2 separate regions of the Homo sapiens genome follow, and region 2 is linked to region 1. The links are contacts of gene promoters, found by promoter capture Hi-C in blood cells and fetal thymus (Javierre and others, 2016). All regions are on one chromosome and are shown on one strand. The core of a region is centred on a gene start or on the middle of the fragment in contact, and the rest is flanking DNA. Distances in the headings are between cores, read along the strand shown.

The links. The method cuts DNA at HindIII sites, captures the fragments that hold promoters and counts their contacts. A CHiCAGO score of 5 or more calls a contact.
Region 2: a contact is called between a fragment that was not itself captured here and the fragment with the promoter of FKBP1A in region 1, in 1 of 17 cell types (naive CD4 T cells). The highest score is 5.8, in naive CD4 T cells.

What each region holds. Positions count from the first base shown.
Region 1 is chr20:1,391,007-1,395,315 of GRCh38, forward strand. It overlaps FKBP1A (FKBP prolyl isomerase 1A), which reads right to left and starts at 2,048. Exons shown (of 5, transcript NM_000801.5): 1 at 1,956-2,048; 2 at 1,828-1,875. The coding sequence starts at 1,992. It overlaps FKBP1A-SDCBP2 (FKBP1A-SDCBP2 readthrough (NMD candidate)), which reads right to left and starts at 2,166. Exons shown (of 10, transcript NR_037661.1): 1 at 1,956-2,166; 2 at 1,828-1,875. MIR6869 (microRNA 6869) reads right to left here and starts at 1,955; the gene lies at 1,894-1,955. RefSeq lists enhancers at 135-648, 1,440-1,940 and silencers at 1,675-1,744, 1,755-1,854, 2,055-2,104. The HindIII fragment of the contact is 4,016 bases long and covers 951-4,309 here.
Region 2 is chr20:1,266,739-1,271,381 of GRCh38, forward strand. It overlaps SNPH (syntaphilin), which reads left to right. Exons shown (of 7, transcript NM_001318234.2): 2 at 1-22. Among named protein-coding and RNA genes, the nearest start is that of SNPH, 2.8 kb to the left of the region's middle. RefSeq lists a silencer at 1-51. The HindIII fragment of the contact is 5,874 bases long and covers 341-4,643 here.

The DNA.
Region 1 (4,309 bases), core at 798-3,297:
TAGGAAAAGGCTCCAGACATGCTGTGTGGGGATATTTCACAAAGAGACATGGTGAAGTGCGGCACTGCCTACATGCTGGGGTCCAGTCCTGTTGGCAGCACCAGAACATGGGCGAGCATGAGGGGCAGACGTGGGAGTGGGACACATGCTGCCAAGCACCCTAGTGTGGCTATGTACAAGCTAGGGTGGGGAGGGGGTGCGGCAGAAGGCAGCTCCTCACGGCTTGAGTCCCAATCTTTGCCCCAGTTGGCTGCGGAACTGAATGAACTGCCCACTCACCCCAGCACTGTAAATGGTTACTCTCCTCATCCTTCCGATGACAAATCACCAAAAGGATGCGCTTTCATCTACCAGACCTCCCAGGCTCAGGTGCTGACTGTGGCCTACAAGGACAGCTATCTAAAACATCAAAAGCACTTTCCAGCTTCCTTCACGGACATGAGACTGCCTGCTCCCCAGAAAGATGGGTTTCAGTAACTCCTCCTTTGGCAGAATTTTTAAAGTTCTAGTCCTTAACTTCTACCTCCTGCCCCCATTTCTACCCACGGGGAAGGGCCACAGAAATAAAAGGGCATGGGAGGGGGGATGTTAGTTGCCTTTTCCTCTTTCCAGTGAAAGTCATTTCCCTCAATAGAGGGATCCCTCCATGTTTCCATGATTTGGAAGAGAAAGGTGGAGCTTATTCGTGAGCAACTTGGCCAGAACTGCCCACAGCCTACTACCCAGGAGGAGGAAGAGGAGGAGAGGGAGTGGGAAAAAAAGAGGGAGGAGGAGGGGGAACAGAGGAAAGGGTGGGAAGGTTGAGAAAGGGGAAGGAGGAGGGGGAGGGAAGGTTATTCGTATCAACAACTGTGGCTACACCAATCACTGCCACCCTTGTGGGACCCACAGCCACTGAGTCTCCGCCAACTCAGCTCTCCCCCTCCCCCGCCCCCATACAAACCAGGACAAGCTTGTAAGGAGAAGGAGTAAGACAGCCCCAAGGCACACGACTCTGATGTCTGAATTCTGGCTGGGGAGGGGGAGGTGTCTAAAATTTCCTTTGGCTTGTATTATCACTATGTATTAGCCTCCAGATGCTTATCTTTAAAATGAGGACGAGAAAAGTCTCTACTTCTAGAAGAGCTGGGGGACTAAATTACACGTGCAGCTTTCGGTCAGCCTGAGCCAGCGCTGTCACTGAGCCTTGGATTTGTAAGTGGCTCAAAAGTAAAAAGACGGAAGAAGGCCGTGCAGCTCTACTTCCCCCAAGGCCAGGAAGGGCCAAAGCAATGACTTAGGAAGTGGGATGTTTCCCCACCCTAGGCAAAGGGGCGAATTCCGAGTTCCCCGGAGGAAGCAGCAGCTCTGCAGACTCGGAATTACCTCGTCCTCATCTCCAGTGAAGGGAGGGATGGAAGTGGGGGCAGGGGCACAGAAATGGTACAAATCCTTCCTAATGGTCCCTGGCCAGAGCTCTGCCCATTCCTGAAAGTGTGACCTTGGGAAAGTGAGACCTTGGGAAAGTGACTTCGCCTCGCCAAGCCTCAGTTTCCTCATCTGTGCAGCGGGCATAAGGGCAGCATCTAAGGTGCAGAAATGCTTCTGACGGGTCAGATAACACCTAGCCCGCAGCCGACGCTCACAGCCGCCGATTCAGACCCGCCCGGGTTCCGCAAGCCCCAGGCTGCCCCTGAGCCACCGCCCAGGCCTCAGCCTCGGGCCATGCGGACCTCGCCGCCGCCACGCCCCGGACCCCAGGCCCCGGGCCCCCAGGCCTCGACGGCCAGCCGCACCCGGGCTGCGGACTGCGGCCCGGGCCCCCTCCCCGCTGGGCCCCCGACTCACCGGTGTAGTGCACCACGCAGGTCTGGCCGCGCTTGGGGAAGGTGCGCCCTGAGGAGACAGAGACGGGCATGCTGAGCCGATGCGCGCGGCGGCAGAGGTACTCCGAGCCGCCGCGCGCCACTACTCACCGTCTCCTGGGGAGATGGTTTCCACCTGCACTCCCATGGCGGCGGCGGACGCTGAGCGGGCGGGCGGCGCGACGGGCGGCGTGGACCAACAGCGACCTGGCGGCGGTTCCACGGCTCTGCCTAGTACCTCGGCGCGTCGCCTGCGCACGCGCACGCCCCCTCACGCCCAGCCCTGCGTGCGCGCCCCACACGGCGCGCGACGTCCCGGAAACCCAGGCCTCCGGAAGAGGGACCGGAAGCCCAGAAGCCCCGAGACCTCCGGAAGCCCGGAGGCCTCCGGATACAGCTGTGTTTGCCGGGTGACTTGCTTCGTTCTCCTGCCCTTCCTCTGTGCTTCCAGCCGGTTAAGCATCTCCCTGCCCAAAGAATGGGAGTAATAATAGGGGGTCCGCCAGTCACTGACTGGGTGACTGTCATCAGGTTTCCACTTAGAAGCACACAGTTACTCATCCTGGGAAGAGCATGGTTCTGAGAAGACAGCGCACAGGTGGTGGTAGTATGTTAGTATTTTATAAGTGGCTCAAGGTTGTAAGTTCTGCTTTTCTTCACTGGAGGAGGAGTTGTCCAAATTCATTCACTCACCCATAGCTTACATGCATACATTCTTATTGAGCATGTGAAAGTTGATAATACGAATTGGGTCACTCTTCTTATGCCCAACGGAATCAGAATCCAGGGGCCAGGGGAAAAGCACTGGAGGCACGCAGCGCCTGCTCCAAGAACCAATATTTCCACTAACTGCTGCGGAAATGGCCTGCTGTCCCCCTGAGACCAGATTCAGCTAGTAACTGCTGAAACAACCCGCCATAACCTAATACTAGTTTTACTTACCACTGTCAGTCACCAATCAGAGCTTGCCAGCTCCCTGAAACTTTACTAGTGCCAATGCATTTCCCTTTCTAATAAAACGCCCAGCCTTCTCTTTGTTTTTCGGACATACCAAAGACCACCAGATCTGTGTGTATGCTCCGAGTTGCGATTCTCGCTTCCCCAAATAAAACATTACATTTAGAGATTCATCTCCATATTTTATTTTGACTTTGACAAGCACCTTCTGTATGTCATGTACTGTGCTAGGTGCTGAGGATACAGCGGTGAAGGAGTCAGACTTAGTCCCTGACCTCACAGAATCTACGTATGATGTGGGAGAGATAATCAAATAACCTGTTTAAGTAAAAAAAGATACGGAATAAATGTAAAGTTTCAAATCTGTAATATTATGAGACAGTAATACATGCTGTGAGGGGCGTGTTAATATAACAGAGATGCCTCACTTAGTCTGGAATGTGGTCAGATATTTCCCTGAGTTAGCCAGGTTTAGCCAGGTTTAGCCAAGGTTAGAAGGCCAATTGTGTGTATGTGTTGGGGTAAGGGGAGGCAGAAGGAGCAGTACCTGCAGAGGCACTGTAACGCAAGAGAACACTGTGACATGGTCTAGGACATAAGGAGGCACATGTGACTAATCTTTCTCTGATCTGTGTGTGTGTGTGCTTCTGCATTAGTCGATTCTCACACTGCTATAAAGAATACCTGAGGCTGGGCACGGTGGCTCATGCCTGTAATCCCAGCACTTTGGGAAGCTGAGGCGGGCAGATCACTTGAGGCCAGGCGTTCAAGACCAGCCTGGCCAACATGGTGAAACCCAGTTTCTACTAAAAATACAAAAAAATTAGCCAGGCATGGTGGCACAGGCTTGTAATCCCAGCCACTTGAGAGGCTGAGGCATAAGAATTGCTTAAACCAGGAGGCGGAGGTTGTAGTGAGCCAAGATTGCACCTCTGCATTCCAGCCTGGGTGACAGAGTGAGAACCAGTCTCAAAAAAAAAAAAAAAAAAAAAAAATTCCTGAGACTGGGTAATTTATGGAGGAAAGAGGTTTAATTGACTCACAGTTCTGCATGGCTGGGAATCCTCAGGAAACTTACAATCATGGCAGAAGGGGAAGCAGGCATATCTTACACAGCAGCAGGCATGAGAGAGAGTATGTGAAGAGGAACTGTCAAACACCTATAAAACCATCATTTCTCATGAGAATGCACTCACTACCATGAGAACAGCATGGGGGAAACCACCCCCACCATCCAATCACCTCCCACCGGGTCCCTCCCTTGACCTCAGGATTATAGGGATTACAATTCAAGATAAGATTTGGGTGGGGACACAGAACTAAACCATACCAGCTCCTGTAGTGTTTTAAACATGACCTCACAGTTTTTTGACACCCCAACCCTCATCTATGTCCCCTTTCCTAAAATCTCAGTGAGCTCGTGACTGCTTTGGAAATTTTAATGTAGTAAGAATACAGGCTGTAACAGAACCAAATTAACTGTGGCTGAAAAGAGGCTGAAGTTGCTG
Region 2 (4,643 bases), core at 2,028-4,527, 120 kb before region 1:
TGCGGAGGGCCAGTGGACTCAGGTGAGGAGGCCGCGGCGGAGCGGGGAGCTGGCCCTGCGCTGCACCGCGGCAGGTGGGGGCCGCTTGCAACCGCTCGCTGCGGTAGAATCCCTTGGAGGGCACCAGCCTAAGAGGGGTTAATCGTGACTCATTCTTACCCTCCCTTCATTCCCCTACATCCCTTTAAGCGCTTCCCTCCCTCCCCCTCCCTGAAATGTAAGAATTAGAGGGTGCTGATTGCAGCAGAGAAGATGCCCAAAGTGGGTGATTAGGAGGCTTTTAGGGAACCCACCCCCCAATTTTATTTGTCTTCCCCTTCTGGCATTTGGCAAACATTTAAGCTTCTCTTTTCCTTCTTGGAGGAGGAGCAGGGGTACCTGGGGGTGGGAGAAGGATGAGACCCCACCCCCACCCCAAGGTCAAGTGCCAATGACTGCTTCCATCCCATCTTTCCCTCTGAGAAGCATCAGGGCCCTGCAGTAGATCTGGGGAAAAAATGCCCATAAGTCCTAGAGTGGACGATCTGAGCCTCCGTCTCCCCGGAGCTTCCCTGGGATGTGAAGCCTTCCACTCCCCAGCCGGGATCTGGGCTGTTTGCAACACCTACTAGCCTGGGGAGCCCCATATTCCCTTCCCCAACCCTGCAGACTGAAAGAGAGGCCGGTCACATGCTGCCCGTTTCCTCTGCCTTCTCTGCCCATCTGGTGGTGTCGGGATGGGCTGGAGGAGCTTCTTAGAAAAAGGTGATCTCTGCAGGCAGAGTCGTGTAAGGAAAGTGCCAGAGATTGGGGTTCTAGGCCCTTAACTTGCTAGTTGGCCACAAGTAGCCATTTTAAAATTCTCTAGGCGTGGGTGTCTGTCTGCTCATCTGTTAGATGCAGGAATTGGATTAAATGATGTGTATAATTTTAGTATATCACTCAAGCAGCTTTTACATGTCAGGGGGACCCCTCTGCTAAGGCAATTTAAATTTAGTTTCATGAAATAATTGGGGTTTCCTCAGTTGATCTCTTTCAACTCTGACTTCTTAAGTGAAACATTGACCTTGTGGGCCTCAAGGAGCTGGAGGTGCCAGACAGTCCTATGTTGACATCCCTGAGCTGCCAAGTGACTTCCCTTCCCCCAGCCTCAGTTTCTCCATCTGTAAATCTAGGGGTACAGCCCGCAGAGGGCTGATGTGAAAATTAAATGAGATGTATGTGGAAGCACCTAAAATAGTGCCTGTGCCTGGCACATAGTAGGTTCTCAGGAACTCAGGACTTGGGAGATAGGCTGGGGGAAGAGAGGAAGAGGTGACTGCTTTTAGTCCTGTTCTCCTCCCCATCCCCTGCCTGTCTCTTCCACACCCCTGCAGATGGTGTCCCTGCCAGGGGTAATGAATGCTGAAGTGTATTGGGTCACCAGGCTGAGGGCCTAGGCAGGCAGCAACATTTCCACTGCAAAGGTTGTGACATCATTCTAGCAAATGATGGTCCCAAGGAGGACTGTAGCCCAGCATTGGGTTTGGAAAATCCTGGCATCCAAGGGCGGAGTCTCTGAGGGAACAGAAGCAGCAGATTCTTGTGTGCTGGCAGCAGGGCAGGGATCAGGTCTTCCGGATCTCACATGAATCCCACTGTGGCTCTCTTGCCCTCCCTGGAGTGTCTCCCTAGAGTCACCCTGAGGCCAGGCAGTCAAGTTTTTGGTGCTTGTATTTTCGATTCTTTATCTTCCTTCCTGCTGTCATTTTCAGCCTAGCACTCAAGCCTTTCTCGCTCCTCTTTATTCCAGATACCTCCTGCCTTTTGACAGCATGATAAAGGAGGTTCTCCATAGGGTTGGGTGGGGAATTTTGCTGCTGCACCATTTGGGCCAAAAGAAGTTGTCATGTCCCCCCACCCCCACCCTAAATTCCTATTTGGCAGAGGCCCTATCATTTTCCTTTCTCTATCTCCAGCCTCTGGCCCATGAGTAGGCCCAAAGTAGGTGCTCCGTAAGTGTTGAATGAAACAAACTTGAGGAAATTATGTCCCTAAGCCAACTAGGTTAGGGAGAAACTGTAGGAATGTGTTGATTATGTAGGTGAAAGCCCTTTTTAGTGTAGGACATCGTCCAGGTTGTTGGTTGTCATTATTATTGCTATTACAGCTACTGTTATTATTGCTATTGTTGGTGATTAACAGATGCTTCGCCTACTCCTCTAGGGCTCCTGACTAGACCAAAAGGGGCCAGATGTGCCTGGGAGGGTGGTGATGTTGGCAAAAAGGGATCCAGATGGTGCCAGCTGGTGTGAGATGACTGTGAAGGGAGGAGGATTGGGAAGGGAATGATTCTAGCCATTTTCTGTGTTTGAGGGAGGAGAGCAGGTAATTAGAATCAAGTGGGACAACATGGATATGCAGTAGAAAGTCAGGAGACCCAGGTCCCATGTCCCATTGAACCACTGCCTTATTATGTGACCTTGGGCCAGTCAGGCCTCCCCTCAAGGCCTCTGTGTGCCCATCTATATAATGATGGGACTGGACTAAGTGATTTCTAAGACCCCTTCTGCTTCTGACATTCTGTCGAGTGGATTTTGTTAAATAAAAATCAGACAACTATGATTACCCTCAACGTCATTTATGAAGTCCCAGACCATTAACTGTCTCAGGTAATCCTTAAAGAAAATTATGACCATTTCAAAGATGGGGAGACTGAGGCTTGGAGAGACTAAGTGACTTGCTGAGGGTTGCGCGGCTAGAACTGCTATCCGACACCAGGTCTGTCTGCATCGTCCCCTTCCAAAGGTTTCGCTGCCTCTTCATGCATACCTTGCTGATGCTGTGAGCTGTGTGTGCACTTGCAGGTGGGAACAGGGGTTTGGAGAAGAAGAAGCTGTGAACAATTTACGGTGAGAGATCAGGCATTTCTCCCAGGTGATTGGTGCAGGGTACTTCCTGGTTGAAAACTGTGTGAACCAGGAATGGAGAGTTTTCCTTTCACCGTGAGCCCTGCTTTGCTGATGTTTGGTGGATGCCCCTTTACCGAGGATAATGGTTAGGCCTGAATGACAGTCAGGACAGACACACTTTTTTAGTCTTCTTATGTGTTGTGCTCTGTTTTACACAGGTTCAATAATTTACTGCTCAGATCATCCCATTATGTAGGCACTATATATAAATTTACCCATTTTTATAAGTGAGAAAGCCAGGGCAGAGAGGCGAAGGGTCTTACCCAGAGTCGTACAACCAGTGTATCATAGAACCTAGAAAATGTTTAGCTGGAAGTGCACTGGACTGGGTGTCCAAAGGGTTGCTTTTAGTCTGAGCCCTCTCAATAACTGAATAACCTTGGGTCAGCCAGTTTCCCTCCAAGAGTTCCCATCCCTCAAATGATCTGCATGCATCTACTGGCTCCGAAAGGCCTACATGCACCCTTGTTCCAGTATTGGAGGTGGAGGGGATTCCTTAACTTGCTAAACATTGACCAGCATTTGTCCTTATTTATTAGCTAGGCCCTGGGCTAAGTGCATAGCATGCAGGAAAGAGTAAATTGTGAGTCCTAGTTTCAAGAAGCTCATATCTAACAGAGGGAGACAGACACCTAAACGTGTAGATATGAGAAAACATCTGGAAGCTATAAGACATACTGATATGTGTGTGATGGGGTGGGGGGACAGAGAGAGGGGAATGATCTTTCCTACTGAGTGGGTCAGGAAGGCTTTAGAGAGATGATGCCATTGTCATCTCTATTTTTGGCATTGAGCTTGTGAATAATAATTTAATAATAATAGTAAAGGGTTCTACTCGATTTAGAATGTTTCCAAACAGCCCTAAAGACTTGTTGGCTCCTGTCCTCATCAATCTAGAAGGTGGACATGGAGTCTAGGGGACTATCCAAGCTCACGCTGTAACACAATTTTGATGGAACTATCTGTTTGTCCCAGGTAGACCAGAACCTTTCCTGTCCTTAAAGCCTTCTAGAAGCAGGATTTTGAAATTCCTCTGACAAAGACTGTCTTGTGCCTATAATCATCTGATAGGCTTGGGGAATTCTTCTTCATGTCTATTCTAGGCATCCCACCTGTCTGGAGGAACGCCTAACACCTGAGAGGTGAAGTCATTTGCCTAAGATTACTCAGCAGGGCTTGGTTCATAACTCTGGCCTAACGGGGATTGCATTTCTAAGCCACATGGGGTCTTTCTACATCTAGGCCACCAGAAGCCCCAGGTGCCAGTTCTCCATTTGATGGGCAGCTGGTGCTGTGGGAAGTCTCGATGCAGGTGATGTGAAGCTCAAGCCAAGGGCCATGGAGAGGCTGAGGCCTGTGCACCCCAGGCTGCTTTGCATTAATGGACAGATATTTATGACGTGTTTGTCGCATACTCAGCACTGTCCTCTGAATTGAGGGGCTGAGCCAACCAAAAGGGAGTGGCTGGAAAGCAGCCTGGCACAGCAGGAAGAGCCAGCACCGAGGAGTCAGTAGACTTGGGTCCTCACCCCAGCTCTGCCGTTGACCCACTGGGTGGCCTTAGGTCAGACCCTTTGCTTTTCCACACCTGCAAAATGGGAGTCAGAGGTGATGATATCTAAGAGCCCTTCTAGCTCTGAGTGGCTAACAATTCAGAAACTCTTTCTTCTTCTTCTTCTTTTTGTTTTTTGGAGGCAGAGTCTTACTCTGTCA